2 separate regions of the Homo sapiens genome follow, and region 2 is linked to region 1. Evidence: promoter capture Hi-C in 16 types of primary human blood cells and fetal thymus (Javierre and others, 2016). All regions are on one chromosome and are shown on one strand. Each heading gives the region's core, a stretch centred on a gene start or on the middle of the fragment in contact. The rest is flanking DNA. Distances are from core to core; before and after follow the strand shown. Region 1 holds the start of RCAN1 (regulator of calcineurin 1). Region 2 holds the start of CBR3-AS1 (CBR3 antisense RNA 1).

The links. Contacts are between HindIII fragments. The CHiCAGO score rates a contact against its expected background, and 5 or more counts as called.
Region 2: the fragment with the promoter of CBR3-AS1 here is called in contact with the fragment with the promoter of RCAN1 in region 1 in 1 of 17 cell types (neutrophils); the score reaches 8.8 in neutrophils.

What each region holds. Positions count from the first base shown.
Region 1 is chr21:34,612,815-34,616,555 of GRCh38, forward strand. It overlaps RCAN1 (regulator of calcineurin 1), which reads right to left and starts at 2,299. Exons shown (of 4, transcript NM_004414.7): 1 at 1,946-2,299. The coding sequence starts at 2,197. RefSeq lists silencers at 1,814-1,913, 2,104-2,533. The HindIII fragment of the contact is 8,899 bases long and covers 894-3,741 here.
Region 2 is chr21:36,154,887-36,158,873 of GRCh38, forward strand. It overlaps CBR3-AS1 (CBR3 antisense RNA 1), which reads right to left and starts at 1,422. Exons shown (of 3, transcript NR_038893.1): 1 at 1,331-1,422. It overlaps DOP1B (DOP1 leucine zipper like protein B), which reads left to right and starts at 1,938. Exons shown (of 37, transcript NM_001320714.2): 1 at 1,938-2,057. RefSeq lists enhancers at 464-1,131, 1,132-1,798, 1,183-1,232, 1,313-1,372 and silencers at 1,553-2,102, 2,133-2,432. The HindIII fragment of the contact is 13,180 bases long and covers 1-3,987 here.

The DNA of each region.
Region 1 (3,741 bases), core at 1,049-3,548:
GACATCCCTTGTTAGTTCCCTCAGGACTGCCCCAATTCACCAGCTCTTCAACAAAACCCCCACAGTGTTAGGACCTGACCACTCTGACCAAGCCCCCTCCCCTTGCTCTCTATCCCTGTTTCAGTCTCTTCATCGCATTTATCACTATCCGAAATGATCTTGTTCACTTGCCTTTTTCCTATTGTCTATCTCCCCCTCAACCACTGGATCCTAAGCTCCATGAAAGCAAGGAGCTTGAAATGTTCCCTGCTTTATCCTCTGGGCCTAAACCAGTGGCTGGAACACAGTAAGCACTCAATAGACAGCAAAGCCTGAATGAACCAATGCTACATTGTCTCTGCTCAAAATATCACCATATCAGTAAGACCTTCCCTGATCATCTTATGGAAAATAGCAATCTCCCCTCCACTCCCAGATCTCCACTCCCTCCTCCTGCCCTCCAAGTCTTATTTTTTCCTATAGCATCATTACTTTCTGATACATTTGATATTTCTTTATTGCTTGTTTCCCTTCCAAAAAATGTCAACCCTGGAGGCAGAAATGCTATTTTATTTACTGATGCAGCCTCAGAGCCTAGGACAGTACCTATCCCGTAGCGAAGTCTCAATAAATATTTGTTAAAATGAATAGCTAGCGAAGTGGGCAAACTTTCATACAACACAATTTCAGGATTGTATCCAACACTGGAAAAAATTGTCTCCAACACTACAAGTAAGTGCCGTCTTACGTGACTTGACCTTGTTCTAGCAGAAAGACAGCCTAGAACTCCTAAGGAAAAGGTCTGAAATGCTGGCTAGCGCTTAGTTTATATGGAGAGGAAAAGGTTTTAGAGTAAGATCAATCAGTAAGACCCTGAGTTCCTGACAATTGCTGCTCTAGAAAGCATGCCTGGAAGCTTACCTAAGCACACGGCCATTGTAATTCCTTTCAGAAAGTAAGTGAACATATAAATTATAAATAAATGACACTTACATACACCATTCTGTTTCACAGTGGTGTTGTATTGGCAGCAGCCTTCAACTATAGTTCATTGACAGCATTTGTGGACCCACAGCCAAGCGCTGAAAGCACTGCTTTTTTTGACAGCTGCTCTCCTAATGGGGCATCTCTCAAAGACCGGTTTCATTCTGTGACGCCCACGTTGTCCACATTTTATTCTGCACAATAACTGCAGATTTGAAATAAATTCTTCCTCCCCACCACCATTATTGATTACTCATACCTGCCCCTCACCCTCCAAAGTGTCTAAATTGTGTGGATTTTGCGGGGGTGGGGGGAGGCGGGGGAAGGAGTCGACTCCCCATGTACTGGGTGTCCCCGATGGCGGCAAGCCACACCTTCACACAAGGGGGCAAGGTTCTTGACTAAATATCCTAAAGGTCTGAAAGATGGTCCCCTTCCCCCCAACACAATTCCACCAAAACTGGCCAGCCGCTGGCTAATGAGCAACCACGGATCCTCACCCAAACATTGGCTTTTCTTCCAATAGTGCAGATTGGGAATGCAGGGACGTCGTCCTATTTATGAACACTGAGTCACGTCGCCGCTCAATGTCTGTTTCCTCCTCCCTAGGAATGAGGTGACCCCCTCCTCCAGCGAGTAAATGCGGGGCGATGGCGAGAGCGCAGGGGGCGGCGGCGCTGCCCCACCTTGGGGAGCGAATTCACCCCCCTAGTCGCACCAGCCTGGGCGCACACGGGGGCCGGGGCGAGCCTGTGGGACTCTGCAGTGAGCTCCGCGCGCCCCGGGGGTGCTAGGGGACCGGGACCCTCGGGGCGCCGTCCCCACGCCCCAGCCCTGACGGGTCCGCGGCCGAGCAGCCCGGGGGACGTCGCTGCCTCCCCGCCCCGCGCGCGGCCGGGACTGGGCGCTGCGACCCGCGCCGCCTCCTCGGGCAACAAGTGTCCGCCCTCCGCCCCGACGGCCCGCCCGGCGCGGTCCTCACCCGGCACAGGCCGTCCACGAACACGCGCGGGTCCAGGTGACAGGCGATGGTGGCGCTGGGCAGGTCCTGCAGGTCCACCTCCTCCATCTCGCAGTCAATGAAGCTCCAGTCGCCGCCGCCCTCGTCCGCCTCGGCCGCCCCCGAGAGGGGCGCGAAGGGCCGCAGCGTCACCCCGGGCCGCGCTCGCGCCTCGGCCGCCTCCGCCGCCTCCGCCGCGGCCCCGAGCTGGGGACCGGCCACGCCGTCCTCCATCCCCGCGCCCGCGCGACCCTGTGCGCCCCAGCGGGCTGCTCCGGGCTTGCGCGCCGGAGCCTCACGCGCTCCGGTCCGCGCCCGGCCGGCGGCTCCGCCGTTAACCCCCTCGGAATCGCGCGGCGGCAGGCGGCGGGCTGTCAGCAGTCTCCCAGCGACACGGCCTCCCAGCGCCAGCCCCGCCCGTCACCGTTCCGCGCGGGAGGGGCAGAAGCCCGGCGCGGCGACCGCCCCCCCAGCCCCTAGGGCCGGCCACCGGCAGATCCAACGGTGGCCCCTTTAAGGCCGGCGCCGGTTGGGTTATTGTACCCCGCCCTTCCAGGAGACGGGGCCAATAAAGGAACGGAATTCTCTTCACGTGACCTTCCTTCTGCCGCCCGAAGCCCGAAGCCTCAGGGCGGCCATGTTGGTTAGGGGCAAAGTCCTCGTCCCCAGTTCCGCTTTTCTGACAGCTGGTGCCAGCTGAAGGACGCCGGGCAGAGTCCTCGGCTCTTGGGCCCTTGGGGTGATAACTGGGGAGGCAACGTTTTTGTGGTTCCCATGCGGGGACGTTTTGAAGCACAGGGGCCCACTTTTGGGAATTTAAGCGAGACATAGTCTCCCTGTGGCTCTGTGGCCCCTGGCAAGTGGTTAGATGCTTACCGTATATTATCAGATATAGTCGCAATAAAGACTGAACTAGACCATGATAACAATGCCTTACTTTTCTATTTCAGCGTATTAGTCACTATACCATTGTGAAAATTTATGTAATTAGAAGTAATTTTTCTGAATTACCATTATATGCTATGTACAATAGGACATAACGAAAGAATTAAGAGATCACCCCTTTCCTTTGGGGAATAGCGGAAAAATAAGAGGACCTCAAGTGAGCAGACATGTCTCTTCCTGAAAAATAGAATTCTTTTTTGGACAGTATGATACAGTGAGAACTTGGGTCTGAATTTCAGCTTTGCTTTTTAACTACTTGTACAAATAAGCTGAATCTTAGTTTCCTCATCTGAAAAAAATGAAGACATATTACTAAGAATTCAGTCAGTGCTTAATAAATGGTAGCTGTTTATGCACTGGGTTCTTTGGAGGTTGTGAAATTACAGTTATATTTTTTCTTAGAGTAGGCTTACTCTCTAGTTAGGAAGTGTTAGTAATTATAACAAAAAGTATATCCAACAGCTGAGATTTATTCAGAACTTGCCATGTGCACGGTTCTATGATTACTATTATCATAGTCTTAGGACAGTTTGTGTCCTCAGGGAGCTAAACCCAAGAGGAATAATAATACCCATCTAGAGATAACTCATAAAATAGAATATGATATGAGGATGTGAAGAAATTGGAACCGTCATACTGTGAAAGGGAAATCTTGGGCCCCCAAAATCACTAAGGAAAACTAAAGCTGGAAGTTGCTTAGAGCCAACCAGCCTCCCATTCCATTCAAAGTCACCCCTCTGCTCACTGAGACAGATGCATTTCACCGAGACAGATTTGCCTCCTTTATAAAGACTAATCAGAAACCCAAAGAGTGTAACCGTTTGTCTATCACC
Region 2 (3,987 bases), core at 172-2,671, 1.5 Mb after region 1:
CACACGCACACACACCTGGAATCCTTTACAGATAGGTGGTATATGAATACAAGGCACAGATTGTATGTGCATGGTGGCTTTGGCACAAACAGACTACTTCTTTTTTCAATGTTAAGTGTAAAGCAGTTCTTTCATCTCTGTTCAGTGCAGTGTTGAGTGTGACTAGGATTTGAAGAACCTAAAAAAAAAAAAAACTCACCTGCTTGCCATCTTCTTGTTTTTTTTTTGTTGTTTTTTGGTTTTTGCTGGTTTTGTTTGCTGCTTTTGTAAAACCAGTTTATCATATTCTCATTAGGAAATCAATTTTCATGAAATTAATTTTTTTTCCTGCTAACTATGGCTCAATCTTTTCGTTTCTCTCTGCTTCTATCTTAAGACCATTCCTCAAATTGACCATGAGAGGATTTACATCTGGGGCACTTGGTATATGCCAAATGGAGACAAAATCAGAATCAGCAGCCTGGCTGGGCCACAGGTCCAGCATCCCAAGCTATTAAAATATTCTTAGTGTTTCCAGGGAAGTGATAGATCCACTTTGGAAGCTGATAATATACCCCTCCCCTAGAAACATGCATATACACAAAGTGTTCTAAACAACTTCCAGGTGCTCATGACCTCCCCCACCTCCCAAGCTCATTGACCACTGCCTCGCCTTCACGAACTCCAGACCTGGTCTGAACATTTCTAAAGGACGCTCGGGAGTTAAAAGGAGCGAGGCCACTGCAGAAATGACAGCCTTCATCCACAAGTGGCCCACTTCGGGTTGGCTGGAGCCACAGCTGGGTGGGGACAGGGCCTGTGCTCAGGTGAGCACTGCCTACCGCGCACCCTCCAGGTGCGTCCTACCCTGAAGCGGTCGGACTGGACCGTCTAGGTCCCAGCGCTCGAGAGGATGGCAGGCAGGGGCTGGTGATTGTCTGGAGATATGAATGCTTTCTAAGGTTGACGTCAAGGTCTCCTTCCTGAGCCACAGTCCACGTGATAAGCTCTGTCCAGGTAGAAATGATCTCACCTCTCCTGTCGCCCAGGGTCGGAAACCTGAGGCCCGTGCGGGCTGGGGCAACTTAGCAGGGGTCCCAAGCCCGCCGCGCCCCCTGCGCCCCAAACGTGTGTGGAGGGCTTGGACGTGGTCCAGAGGGAAAAGATGGGGTGAACCAGGTGCCGCGCACCCTTCGAGGAGCCCCCGCTTCTCCGTTTCTGTGAGTGACTCCAAAGCACCTCCGAGGGCCGACACACGCGCGGACGACCTTGGGCGGGCACTGACCAATGTCCCCTTCCACTCGGTTGTGTCGGGGGTCCCCAGGTGAGGCGCGAACGCCGCCCCGCTCACCTGTACGAGGCCTTTCCCGGAGCAGCCCGGCTACGAAGCGACACCCATGGCGGAGAAGCTAAGGAAGACTCCCGCTCCCTCACACCGCGGCTGAGGCGACTGAACCGCCCCAGTACGCCGGGGCCCTCCCCAAGCCCTGCTCCCAAGCCGAAGCCCCGCCCCCGCGTCTAAGGCCCACCTCCAGGCCCCGCCCCTGACCCCGACTCCGTGAGTCAAGCCTGGCCTTTCAGTCCAGCCCAGCCCGTCGAGGCCCCGCCCCTGTTGTTATGGCCCGCCTCCAGGCACCGCCCTTGATCCCACCTTCATGAGTCAGGCCCCGCCTTCCAGCCTAGCCCGGCCAGCCGAGGCCCCGCCCCTGTAGGGACAGCCCACTTCCAGGCCCCGCCCTTGATCCCGCCTCCTTCGGTCAGGCCCCGTCTTCTAGTTCCGCCCCGCCCGCGGAAACCCCGCCCCCGCGCGCCTATGGCCCACCTCCAGGTCCCGCCCCTGAGCCCGCCTCCAGGCGTCCAGCCCCGCCTTCCAGCCCCGCCCCAAGCGCCGAGGCCCGGCTTCCAGGCTCCGCCCCGACCCGCGCGGTGGGGAAGAGCCGCTGCCGCTGGTTCTCCGGCTCTTCCTCGGCGGTTCTGGCTCCCGGCCGCGCCGCAGCCCTGCCCAGTCTCTCTCCCCCAGCCCGGAGGGCTCCTCCGCGCCGCACGTGAGCGCGCCCGCCAACAGGGCCACTGCCGCGGTAAGTCGTGCCTGCGCCCTGTCCGGCGTCCAGTCCTCAGCCGCTGGGCGAAGCCGGAGGAGCCGGGCATCTCCTCCCCGCCGGCCCGCGGGTCCTTCTCCGGGTCCAGAGGGCTTGGGCGGCGCCGTGGGGCGGCCCGGGGTGCAGGTGGCTTACCGGCGCGCGGCCCGGGCCTGCGGCGCGCTCTGCTGCAGTGCGGGGGCGGAGAGCTCGGGGCCGGAGACCGGGAGGGCAGCGGGGAGACTGGGTGGGGTCCCCTAGGGTTACCCGACCCTGGCGCGGAGGATATGATGCCGGCCACGCCCTCGCCGAGCGGGGCGGCAGGTGCAGGTCCAGGGGTGGGTCGCGGCCCGCGCGCCCTCCCGGGGCCGGCCCACGAAGAGACGCTCAGCCTTTGTTTGCTGGTGCCCTGGCTGGGGAGGAGGCTGGGGACGCAGACCTGTGAGAACTAAGGGCTTTCCTCGTTGGGGAAGACCCCAGTCTTCCAGCCAGTCCCCAGGAGAAGGGATCCGGGCCGCAGTGCGCGCTCTGCCAGCCTGGCCCCTGCGCCCTGCAGGGTTCCCGGCTGCTCGCGGGGACTGTTACCCGCAGTGTTGCCTTACACTCGCGACTGCAGCCCCACAATTGGGAAGACTTTGCTAGGATTTTTTTGGTAAGGCGAGGGAAGACCGTCCCCCCGGCCCCACAAGTCTGCTGCCATTAGGTGGCTTAAATTTTTTCCAGTACAATTTAATTGCCACTTTGAAAGACCACATTCAAAACAGTGTGTCCCAGAGTTGATTAAGCCCATTGGTGATGAGTGTTTCTGTGCTGTGGACTAAGGATCATTATCAATTTTATTACTAATAGTACATATCTGTTATCTGTTGCTAAATGTTTTTGCTTATGTGGTAGGGTCACTGTCCTCATTTTCATCGAACTGAGAAATGTTCCTTCATATAGACATATTTACAGTGAACTTTTTTGGGATCTGGCAGTTGGTTTTTCTCTTGAACTTGTTTTTTTCTTTTTCTAAATTATTATTATTATTATTATTTTGAGACGAAGGTCTCATTATGTTGCCCAGTCTGGTCTCAAACTCCTGGGCTCAAGCAATCCTTCCACCTCGGCCTCTTAAAGTGCTGGGATTACAGGTATGAGCCACAGTGCCCAACCCTGAATTTGATTTTCTATGAAATTAAAAATGGGTAAAGAGAGAGATTTCTTGCTGACATTTTCGATTTTAAGGTATCTGAGCAGATACACTTCTTGTGTGATTACTTCTTTCTGTGTCTAGTTATTTATAGCCTGTATAACTGTCGGTTTTACTGAACTCTTCAATCTCTCACAGGAGACATATCCAGGATAGATTGCAAGATCATTGGCAAAAGAGCTATTTGAGAACTGAACCAATAATTTTATCAGTAGCATAATGTAGTGGAGACCTGTACTATCTCACTGACCTGAGCTCGAATCTGGTTCTGCTAGCTGCTGGGTGTGTGACCTGGGCAATTTTCCGAATGGCCTGACTTCTAATATCCTCATCTTGGGCCTAATACCCATCTCACAGGACTCGTGTATTGCAGTAAAGAAATGCATGCAGCCGGGCGTGGTGGCTCACACCTGTAATCCCAGCACTTTGGGAAGTCGAGGGGGTGGATCACAAGGTCAGGAGATCAAGACCATCCTGGCCAACATGATGAAACTGTGTCTCTACTAAAAATACAAAAATTAGTTGGGCGTGGTGGCATGCGCCTGTAGTCCCAGCTACTCGGGAGTCTGAGGCAGGAGAATCACTTCAATCTAGGAGGCGCAGGTTGCAGTGAGCCGAAATGGCGCCACTGCACTCCAGCATGGCGACAGAGCGAGACTCTTGTCTCAAAAAAAAAAAAAAAAGAAAAGAAAAAAGAAATGCATGCATAAGGCCAGGTGCAGTGGCTCATGCCTGTAA